Linked DNA regions of Homo sapiens: all the other regions are linked to region 1. Evidence: promoter capture Hi-C in 16 types of primary human blood cells and fetal thymus (Javierre and others, 2016). All regions are on one chromosome and are shown on one strand. The core of a region is centred on a gene start or on the middle of the fragment in contact, and the rest is flanking DNA. Distances in the headings are between cores, read along the strand shown.

Region 1 (2,717 bases), core at 1-2,500:
TGTCTTCCCTCAAAGACTGTGAACTACTTGTGGGGAGGAATGATCTTTTGTATCTGTATTCACGGCACCTAGCATGGTGTCTCACTCATAGTAGATTCTTGGTAAATGTTTGTTAAATGGATGTGAAGTTAAGTGGATGTGTATACAGCATACAGAGGTGGTGGCACTGGTGGGAAGCAAGATGCCAGTTCCTAGGGCTGAGCACAAAACCCACCCTGGACCATCCGTAAGACGTGCAGGAACATCTGTTCCATCGCTAGCGCCCTCTACCTCCCCATTTTGTTTTGGAGGCAGGGAAGGTTATTGGTCTGAAAAGATCTCCATCTCAGAAGAAAAGAACGCTGATACATGTTATGGATATCTCACATTCACTCATTGATTTAACGAATGTTCACTGAACATTTACTCTGTACCACGGCTCATCTGATTCTCACAACCTCTCTCAGCATTATCCGCATTTTTAGATGAGAAGGCTGAGGCTCAGATTTATTTGCATAAGGTCCCACGGATAGCAAGTGACATAGCTGAAAATTCACTGGTTCTGACTCTGGAGGGTGTCGGGCAAGAGTCAGGGGTTGCGGGTCTCCAGAGGGCTGGTCCAAGTGGGGCTCACCTGAACTTGGTGTGGCTGGGAGCCGCGTTCTGTTCAACTTTCTGCTTGGCCGCAGCGTCTTGGAGCTGTCGAGCGCCTGTGCAGATGGTCCCGGCCGGCGTTCTGGCCACGACCCTGCTGGGAAGAAAAGCTCGGTGAGGGCCACGGCCTAACGGTCACTGGGGCCCGGGTGGCTCAAGGGACACGAGTAGGAGCATAGTCCTGGAGGTGGCGGTGGGCTCGAGGGGGCAGTCATTTGTTACCCGGCTGTCTGGGGCCAAGTCCAGGACCGCAGGAACCGCGACCCCGCGTTTCTCACAGCCTGCATGACTTGAATTGACCCCAGTCAGTTTCCGTCTGCAGCGACAGTCACAGCTGCGCCGGCGCCGGTACCATGAGTGCCTGTCGGGGAGGGGACAGAAGGGAAAGTCATCTACTCTTCATTAGGTCCACTGAATATTTTTATTTCCATTTAAATGCTCAATAAGACTTTCACTGTAGTTCACCAGGGGATTCTTTCCCTTTTTTAATGTTCTGAGATGGTGGGTCACCCCCTCCATATGCGAATGGTTCGTTCTAGCAGTTCCGGGACTGAGCTTTCCCCTAGTTTGCCGCTCCCGCGGCTGAGGGATCCCTGGGAGCCGCGGTGCATTGTGGGAGAACGAAAGATGGCGGCGCCCGTAAGGCGGACGCTGTTAGGGGTGGCGGGGGGTTGGCGGCGGTTCGAGAGGCTCTGGGCCGGCAGTCTAAGCTCTCGCAGCCTGGCTCTTGCAGCCGCACCCTCAAGCAACGGATCCCCATGGCGCTTGTTGGGCGCGTTGTGCCTGCAGCGGCCACCTGTAGTCTCCAAGCCGTTGACCCCATTGCAGGAAGAGATGGCGTCTCTACTGCAGCAGGTGGGACTGAGATGCAGGGTTCAGAGTGACGTTTATTCTGCGTGACTTTGAGCGAGTAATTTCACCTCTCTGAACTTAAGTATACGGTACTTATCCGCAGAATGGTACCTACCTTACTGACTTGGTTTGGTACATAGATGTTCAACAAAAAGTGGTTTCTTTTCATTGGCCGTGTTTATTGTCACCTTAGACAACTCTTTGGAGATACTCTACTTCTTGTTCATGCAACACAATAGGGATCCTGTGGTGAACAAGAATCGGTCCGTGTCACTAGGAGCTTACAAGTCTGGAGGGAGAAAGTCTTTGTGATGTGATGAATGTTAAGAAGGAAATACAAGAGGCGGTGGGCACATCTGTCAGATGCCTATGATAAGCCTACTCTGTTTTATCTCATGGGGCTATCTGTGTGAGGGGCAAGTGAGGAAGCATGGGCAAAAACAGTGTAGTGGCTGTGAAGGTGTGAGGTCGCTACAGAAAGTGTTTGAAGGGTGATATGTTTCCTCAGAATCCGAGATGTTTTTGTCTTGGTCTGTTGAGAACTATAAACTTCTCTTCTGTGCTTTTTGCTTGATTTATTCATTTACTCGCTCGCTTGACAAATATTTGTTACTCAACCTACAGATGTTCATTGTGCCCATACTATGCATCAGAGAGTATGTTAAGTGATAGAGATGCTGTAATGAATAAGGCAGAAGTAGCTCTGGTTCTCAGAGTACTTCAGTCTAGTTGAGTGAGGGGATCAGTCAGTAACCAAATAATCATACAACTAAATGCAGACCCTGATAAGTGTTGTTAAGGAAAACACAAGGCACTATAAGAGTGTTTAACAAATACATCACATTTTGATTTTATGGTGAGTGTCAAGGAATGCCTCAGACTTTCTGAATACAGGTTTTTCTCTTTATGAGAAATGTCTCTCTGAGACAGTCATATTTAAATTGAAATCAGAAAGATGAGTAGGACTCTCCCAGAAGAAAGAATGTGAGGAAAAACATTCTAGGAAGAAGGAACAACCTCTTGAAAGTCCCTGAACAGGAAAGTCCTTGGTGAGTGAGATTCTGATCAAAGACTGACATGACTGGATTGTGGTGAGTCAGCAGGCATTGCCCAACCCAGCTCTCTGTTTTTGTAGCACTCTTGACCCCCAGTGACATTGTAACATTTTTGGCAAATGTAACTCAAGCCCAAAGTTCAGAGGACCTTTTTTTCCCTCCATTTCCTTTCTGCAT
Region 2 (2,700 bases), core at 153-2,652, 210 kb before region 1:
TGACTTCTTCCTATGAAATATGAAGATATGGCCGGGCGAGGTGGCTCACACCTGTAATCCTAGCACTTTGGGAGACCAAGGTGGGTGGATCATCTGAGGTCAGGAGTTCAAGACCAGCCCGGCCAACATGGTGAAACCCTGTCTCTATTAAAAATACAAAAATTAGCTGGTCATGGTGGTGTGCGCCTGTAGTCCCAGCTACTCAGGAGGCTGAGGCAGGAGAATCACTTGAACCTAGGGGGCGGAGGTTGCAGTGAGCCAAGATCACACCACTTCACTCCAGCCTGGGCCAAAAAGCAAAACTCAGTCTCAAAAAAAACAAACACCTGACGTCAGGAGTTTGAGACCAGCCTGGCTAACATGGTGAAATCCCATCTGTACTAAAAATATATAAATTAGCCAGGTGTGGTGGCGGGTGCCTGTAATCTCAGCTACTTAGGAGGCTGAGGCAGGAGAATCGCTTGAACTGGGGAGGCGGAGGTTGCAATGAGCCAAGATAGCGCCATTGTACTCCAGCCTGGGCAACAAGAGCGAAACTCCACCTCAAAAAAAAAAAAAAAAAAAAGAACAAGAAGAAGATATAACACACATCTCTCCTGACCCTTCCAAAATAGTTACCTCATGATTTGGGGGAATTAAATCAATATTCAATGCTTCTATTGTTATTATTATGTAAATTATGACAAAAGGGCAACATACCTACTACTTTTGTACATTTTCTCATTCTTGGCACTAGTAATTGTCTCTCTTTTTAACTTAGTTTTCTATGTGCCTAGTATTAACTCATCTCAAACTAATAGAACCTCCTTTTGGTATGATTCCCTTTTGTTATTGACAGATATTCAGGACCCCCCTCTGCACTCTAGGTTGGCTCCTCTCTGGGCTCAATACACCGCTGTCATCTGGAGACATCCTATCCTCATCTTCCCGGGAATATCTTACACCTTTCTCTTCTACTGGAGTTCCTCTTTTTCAGTTTCCTCCTCCATTTGGGTGGAGCATATCTTCCAATAGCTTCTTTAAAAAGAGATGTGGAAGATAAGTACTTGAAGGTGTAGATTTCTTAAAGCATCACTTTATTTTGTTTTCATATTTGATCTGTACTTTGCTTGGGTATAGAATTTTAGGTTACAAGTTATGTTCCTCACTTGATGCTTTTTGATGATGTAAAAATAATTTTGTTTAAAAAAAGAAATCACTTTCCCTCAGAAGTTTGAGGCATTACATCACTGTCTTCGGTCTTCTAAAGAAGTCTGGTGCCTTTCTGACTCCTGGACCTTAGTGCATGCCCCATTACTCTTCTCTGGAGGCTTCTAGGGTCTTCCTTTTATCCTCAGTGACTTAATTTCCATAGTGATGTCCCTTGGTGTGGGTCTTCCTTTAGTCATCTTGTTGAGCCTCTAGGGAGCCCTTTGTCTTAGATGATCCATACACTTCTGTTCTGATAAATTTTCCTCCTCCCTGTTTTCTCTCTTCTCTTTCTAGAATTCCTATTCATCAGATATTAAATTTCTAAGTGAAGCCTCTAGTTTTCTTATCTGTTCTGTCCCATTTTCTTTTTTGTTTTTAATTTCTGTGGGTACATAGTAGGCATATATTTTTATGGGGTACATGGGATATTTTGATACAGGCACACAATGCATGTCAGGGTAATGGGGTATCTGCCACCTCAAGCATTTATCCTTTGTGTTGCAAACAATCCAGTTATACTCTTTTACTTATTTTAAAATGTACAATAAATTATTGTTGACTGTAGCCACTCTGTTGTACTATCAAATACTATTCATCCTATCTAACTATATTTTTATACCCGTCAACCATCTTTCCTTCCTCCCCACTCCCCACAACACTTCCCAGCCTCTGGTAACCAACCTTCTACTCTCTATCTCTCATGAGTTTGGTTGTTTTAATTTTTAACTCCCACAAATAAGTGAGGACATGAAAATAAGTGGAATTTGTCTTTCCGTACCTCACTTATTTCACTTAACATAATGGCCTCCAGTTCCATCCATGTTGTTGCAAATGAGAGGATCTCATTCTTTTGATGACTGAATAGTACTCTATTGTGTATATGTACCACATTTTCTTTTTCCATTTGTCTGTTGATGGACATTTAGGTTGCTTCCAAATCTTGGCTGTTGTGAATAGTGCTGCAATAAACATGGAAGCGTGACTATCTCTTCAATATATTGCTTTCCTTTCTTTTGGGTATATACCTAGCAGTGAGATTGCTGGATCATCTCATAGTTCTATTTTTAGTTTTTTAAAAGAATCTCCAAATGGTTCTACATAGTGGTTGTACTAATTTACATTCCAACAACAGTGTACAAAGGTTCCCCTTTCTCCACATCCTTGCCAGCATTTGTTATTACCTGTCTTTTAAATAAAAGCCATTTTAACTGTGGTGAGATGATATCTCATTGTAGTTTTGATTTGCATTTCTCTGATGGTCAATGATAATGAGCACCTTTTCGTATACCTGTTTGCCATTTGGATGTCTTCTTTTGAGAGATGCCTATTCAGCTCTTTTGCCCATTTTAAAATCATATTATTAGATTTTTTTTCCTATAGAGTTGTTTGATTCCTTATATATTCTGGTTAATAATCCCTTGTCAGATGGATAGTTTGCAAGTATTTTTTCTCATTCTGTGGGTTGCCTCTTCACTTTTTTGATTGCTTCCTTTGTTGTGCAGATGCTTT
Region 3 (2,761 bases), core at 53-2,552, 190 kb before region 1:
GGTGGCTGGAGCTGGCCTGCCTTCAGCCCTGGGGCCAGTGGCACGAAAGCCAGCCTCCTGGGAACCAGGCTGTGCCTTCAAGTCACCTGCAGTCCCGCAAGGGAGGCAGAGGCTGCAGACTTGCTGTCAGACACACGCAGTGGCTGCAGCAGCTCTAACAAGAAGCTTCAGGACACTGAGGAGGGAGTGAGGAACTCCAGCTAGGGACACAGGGAAGGGCTGCTCAGAGAGAACACAAGGGCGTCAATAAATGGAAAGGAAAGGCCGCAAGCATTTCGGAGGCAGGGAGAGCATGTGCAGCTAAAATAAGAGGCCTGCGAGGGTGGGGGCAGGGGGTGTGTGAAAGGTGGTGTGGGGACGGATGGTGGGCCTGGATTTATCACTGAAGGCCTTGAATGCCGAAGTCGGGAGCCTAGACTTTATGGGGTAGTGCTATGGGAGTCGGGGGCCCTCGGTCCATTCAAGGGAGAAGCGATGACCATTTACCATGTCTTCCGTGCACTAGGCTGAAGTTAAACCTCTGAGCTGGATATGATTATTCCCCCATTTTACTGATGATAAAACTGAGGCTCACACACAAGCCAGCCAGTTGTGCAGCTGAGATGTGGATCTTGCAGAGGCGAGTACACAGGGCAAATCCTCAGTGCAGTCACCTTTCATCTCCCTTCGCATGCCCCGCTCAGCCCTGGTGTCCTGGCCGGTACCCAGCATGGGAGCCAGCGGGCTGTTGGACCTGGCTGCGTTTTCTTGGTGTCCCTCTGTCGAGAGAGGACTTCCTGTTCTCACAGGGGCTCCTTTTCCAGGCACTCCAGACAGGGTGTTGGGGACACCTGGTTAGACGGCCCAGCTCAAAAAGGCTTTTTCTTGTTGCCGTTATTACGCTGTATTGTTTTATTTTTTAATGTTTAGTTTTATTTTTTGGCTTGGACACCCTATCATTAATCAGCAAGCAGGTAGCATGGTGGCGTCGTCTGCGCTGTGCCTCTGCATACCTGCCCCTGTCACCATCCTTGACAGATGAGGAAACTGAGGCACAGGGAGGTTATGTGTTCTACCACTCTGCTCTATGGAGAAGGAAGCCAAGAACAGAAGCAGAATGCAGCACCAGCACCCTTTATTACCAAGTGGGGAGGTAAAGAGCCCCGGATTTGGAATCAGACAAACCCCAGGCTGCAATTCCCAGCTCCCCTGCTTATGAGCTCTGTGACCGTGGGCAAGTCACTTTTCCTCTCTGGGCCTCTGTTTCCTCTTCTGTGAAATGGGCCTGATTATACCTGCCTTAAAGGATGGAATGAGAGAACTGTGCCCAGCACCCTCCACAGGGCTTCATAAATGGCAGGGTCTTTCCTTTCCTGTGCAGCCCAGTCTACCATGCGCGCAGCTTGGCAGGGAGCCACAGGCCTGCTATTTCACTCCCTCGAGGGGCAGTAACACCACTGCCCAACTGTGACAGCTCTACCATGTTAGCTCCTTGTGTCCTGTGGGTCAGTTCTGGTCACAGTGATCAGTAGCACCACTGTCCATGTGAGCGGGGGCGGGCGGGAGGGCTGGTTTCTAGGGGCATCAGTGCAGGCAGGAGCTGCCTGGTGGGGTACTGAGCTTCTGGAACAACCAGGCTTAATGAGCCCAGGGACAGAGCCTGGGAGAAGGCCCTGGGTCAGGCTTAAGGCCCCAGACTGAGAGCCACAGAGCGGCAAGGGCTCCAGGAAAAGCCCAGCCTGGCCCTTATGTGCCTTATGTGCCTTGAGGCTAACAGGCCCAGACTCAGCCCTGTTCCCTACTCCGGACATGATTCCTACAGCTCTTGCCAGCAGGCTAGGGGCGGGCTCCGTGCTCCCCAGCCCCTCCCCGAGCCTCAGGCTTTGACTCACCTGGCCCCACTCTGTATGCCTTCTTCTGCCCTCCTTGACTAAGACCCTCCAGGCTCTGTTCAGATCTGGTCTCCTGCCCTGCCAGCCCCATCCTTCATCCTGCTCCCAGGGCACTGCCCTTCCCTCCGTCACACACTCCTTACCATGTGTGCTGATGATCTGGTTAAGGGCCACCTCCCAACCAACCAAGAGCTCAGGGACAGAGACGGGTCTTGCTCACCCTGCGTCTCTAGGATCTGGCCTAGAGCAGGCAGCAGGTGTTTAATAAAGAGCTGTTGACCTGAAGGGTCCCTGTGTACAGCCCTGGCTCTTAGTGTCTGGCGCCTCTCCCTCTGCCCTTCCCACAGGGTGAACTCCCAACCCCCCATATCCGTATGCCTTTTCCTGCCTGCTTTGCCCACCAGCCAGAAGTGCTGCGGAATCAGTGCCCAGGAGCAGCAGCAGCTGGTGGCTGATGGGAACTGGTGTACAAATATCCCAGTTCCCCGGCCCCTGCTGTGAGACATATCTGAGGTGAGGTGTGTGCTTTACATCATTGCCCAGAGTTCTATGGTGGGAGCAAGCTTCACTTCCCACAGGGTAACTGGCTTGATTTCAACAACAAAAGCAAACCTTTGTTGGGTGTTTTCCCTTCCCTGCCCTCATCCTCACTCTACCAGCCAGGGACCAGGCACAGCAGGACCTACCATCAATGCCTCAGGCAAGCTGCCCTGAGGTGTGCGAGGGCATGAGGGAGGAGGAGGAAAGGGAGGGGACAGGGGAGGAGGAAGGGGAAGAAGGGGAGAAGAGCGAGGAGGTGGGGGAGGGGGAGGGGGAGGAGGAAGGGGAGGAGGGCAAAGGGGGAGGGGAAGGGGGAGGAGGGGAAGGAGGAGGGGAAGGAGGAGGGGAAG
Region 4 (2,979 bases), core at 366-2,865, 220 kb before region 1:
CATGGAGCCTCTTGAGAGACCAGTGTTCCATGGAACAACATTTGAGAACCATCAATCCACAACATCCCTCATGAGTAGTCACCAGCATTGGCTTGGAAGGCTCCAACAACATTATCTTGCATGGCAGCCCATCTCGTTTTCAGGCAACTTTCATCCCTGGGGGGTGCTCGTCCTCTCTGGAGTGGCACAGAAGCAAACCCAATCTGTTTTATACTGGAGAGTCCTCTGCAGAGCTTGGGTCTCCTCCTATCACATTCTCTAGCCTAAGTGTCTCTGCATTAAGCTAGGTGCTCCCTTTAAGAGCAGGAGCTGGGCTTGGCTTGTTAAGTCTCTAATGCTTGGCACACAGTAAGCACTTGGTAAATGGTTGTTTAATCAATGAATAAATAAAGCCTCCCTCAGTTCATACCTCAAATTTGCCTCCATCTCCAGACCTTTTGCTGTCTTGGTTGCCTATCACTGGGGAACCATGGAGCCACACGTATTGGGCTCACTCACTTCCTGTCGCATTCGATCGCCGATGCTCATTGTTTCCATGGACACACTTAGCTCTCCGAATCCCACAGCTCTCTTCTGCGTGGCCAGCTTGTTCCCTCCTCAAAGCTTTTGCACAAGCTGTTCCTTCTGCTTGGGAAATGGCCACCTCTTTCTCGCCCTTCTGCTCTCAGCTGAAATGTCACCTCTACAGAGGGACCCTTCCCAAAGTAACATCCTCCCACCACTGTCCATCCCAAGACCCTGTTTTGTTTCGCTTGTAGTGCTTATCACCACCCACAGTTACCTTGTTATGGTGCTTGTTGATGTATTTGTCATCTGGCACCTGGTTTCTGCTCTCACCACTGGGTCTCTAGGGCTAGAACAGTCCCTGGCAGAACATGGACACAACAGAGTTGGTTGAATGTATAACTTAAATCAGTAATCACGGAAGGGAGAGTCTGTCACTCAAGACAACACAGATTCCCCTGCCACGTGTCATCATATATGCTGCTGCCTCTGTTCAATCAGACGCCCTGGGGCAGAGCAAAGCTTCAAGAGACTGACCTTCTAACATAGGCTGATTCATGGAGAGCTCCCTCCAGCCGCCCAGCCTGCTCAGTGCAGCTGGGGCCCGTGAAAGAAGCCCTTGTCACCTTTCACTGTGTGGTCATTCACCGGGATTGGCTCGCCTGTCAGAGAATTTTAATTTTTTGAAAAAATTCAAACCATCTTGAAACATACAAGCCAAGCACCCAGGCACAGGTAGGAGAAGGATGAATACATTTATTCGAGGAGGCCCCTCCAGGAGACCACAGAGGCAGGAGCCAAGTCCTCCTCTCTGAAGCCTCAGCTTGTGTAGCCTTTCTTAGACTTCCTACCCAAAACACTCGGTGTATTGGTGCTCTGAGGGTGCTGGGAGCACCCAGGAGGGGCCCTGAGGATGGTTAAGGGAGCAGGAGAGAGAAGTAAGGCTGCAGTTGCTCTTGGGAGGTTCGAATGTCTGGCATTCTTGGCCCCTCCACACCATCAAGACTTTTGGATGTTTGCTCCCTGAGTATTTCACAAATCTGCCCCCACCCTCCATCCCCAAGCTGCCATTGCTCAAGGCCCACCATCACACACCTGGACTGTAAAATTACCCCCAAACTGGCCACCCAGCTTCTTGGCTGTTTTCCTGTTTTCCAGCAGGCAGAATAACAGTTCAAAAGTGGACATCTGATGGAATGACCCTCCACATCCCAATCTTAAATAACTTCAATGAAGTAGCATCACCGACAGCAAAAATTTGACTTCTTCCCTGGCATTCAGGCCCTCCAAGCTGGCCCTATCTGCTGCTCCTTCATTACCTCCCTTTCTCTTTGCCTCACTGTTATTCTTGGGAAGATCGAGGAGCTTGTGGTGTCCTGGCCACACCATGCCACTCCACAGTAGGGTGAAGGATCAGAAGTGTGAGTCTGGAAGCCATGGGAGATGGAGCTGGTGGAATCTGGGAAGGCTTCCTGAAGGAGGTGATATTGGAGTTATCACCTTAAAGGAAAAGTTAGAGTTAACAAGGCAAAAAAGAGGAGAAGGAGCTTTTGGATTAAATGATTTACTCAAGGATCCCATAGATCATAAATGGCAGAGTTGATGTTACTGATGCTTGGGTAAGACGTAGAAGGGAGAACTGAGCCTGGCATTCTAGAGGTGAGGTCTTTATGGCCACATGGGTCAGGAAATGAAGCTTCAGGATGGCATGAGGCAAGAAGCTGGACCAGAGACACTTCTGTAAAGCCAGGACCACAGGAGTCTGCAGCCTCAGAGCAAAGCTAGATAAGGAAAAATCCCGCCTATCAGCAATAGGAGACGACAGGGCTGCATATTCATCCTCACATGATCTTTGGATTAAAAAAAAAAAAAAGCAAGTCTCCACAGGAGAAATCAAAATCCTAGGACTGCTCTTTCAAAATGTACATAAAATCTAAGGTCCAACAATCCCCAGCCTGATGTGGAGGAGTGGATAGAGTGGTAGAAGAAGCTATAGGGAAAGGAGCAGGACTTCTGAAAGGTCGGAAGGTTCTGCAAAGTTTCAGGGGAGAAGAAGCTGAAGGCAGCTGTTCTCTTACCCTGAGGCAGAGGGCGAGGAGTAGGTACAAGGGAGTGGGGGAATTTATCTAAATAGGCTTGTTTACTCATGTTGTCTAGAAACTCACTTTTGATCATCTGTGTGTGACTGCTCCCTATAAGGGGAAACAATAATATTAATTACCCACATTAACATAAGATTGTGTTGGCTCCAGGCTTTGGCATTATATCTATACTGAATAAAAGCAAGCAGCTCCAGCTTATCAGGACTGCTCACTCTTTGGCCGTCCCCTAGCTGCTCTTACACTGCATACCTGTGTCTGAGTACTCCTTTCATCTGTTGCTCGGCCAGGATCTGCGAGATGGACCCGGCAACTAACAAAATGAGTACCCAACAGGTGATTGGACTGGAGTGCCCTGTAATAGGAGGAGATGCAA

What was found. Contacts are between HindIII fragments. The CHiCAGO score rates a contact against its expected background, and 5 or more counts as called.
Region 2: a contact is called between a fragment that was not itself captured here and the fragment with the promoter of MRPL46 in region 1, in 8 of 17 cell types (activated CD4 T cells, total CD4 T cells, naive CD4 T cells and 5 more). The highest score is 10.3, in activated CD4 T cells.
Region 3: a contact is called between a fragment that was not itself captured here and the fragment with the promoter of MRPL46 in region 1, in 8 of 17 cell types (activated CD4 T cells, naive CD4 T cells, non-activated CD4 T cells and 5 more). The highest score is 11.5, in activated CD4 T cells.
Region 4: a fragment that was not itself captured here is called in contact with the fragment with the promoter of MRPL46 in region 1 in 2 of 17 cell types (activated CD4 T cells and naive CD4 T cells); the score reaches 5.6 in activated CD4 T cells.

The regions. Positions count from the first base shown.
Region 1 is chr15:88,465,921-88,468,637 of GRCh38, reverse strand. MRPL46 (mitochondrial ribosomal protein L46) reads left to right here and starts at 1,250. Exons shown (of 4, transcript NM_022163.4): 1 at 1,250-1,488. The coding sequence starts at 1,261. MRPS11 (mitochondrial ribosomal protein S11) reads right to left here and starts at 930. Exons shown (of 6, transcript NM_022839.5): 1 at 856-930; 2 at 614-730. The coding sequence starts at 920. RefSeq lists enhancers at 1,080-1,249, 1,716-2,717. The HindIII fragment of the contact is 6,788 bases long and covers 1-2,717 here.
Region 2 is chr15:88,671,199-88,673,898 of GRCh38, reverse strand. No RefSeq gene overlaps it. Among named protein-coding and RNA genes, the nearest start is that of ISG20, 34 kb to the right of the region's middle. The HindIII fragment of the contact is 5,777 bases long and covers 1-2,700 here.
Region 3 is chr15:88,652,492-88,655,252 of GRCh38, reverse strand. All of the region lies in intron 3 of ISG20 (interferon stimulated exonuclease gene 20), which reads right to left. Among named protein-coding and RNA genes, the nearest start is that of ISG20, 15 kb to the right of the region's middle. The HindIII fragment of the contact is 2,269 bases long and covers 168-2,436 here.
Region 4 is chr15:88,688,572-88,691,550 of GRCh38, reverse strand. No RefSeq gene overlaps it. Among named protein-coding and RNA genes, the nearest start is that of ISG20, 51 kb to the right of the region's middle. The HindIII fragment of the contact is 1,174 bases long and covers 1,029-2,202 here.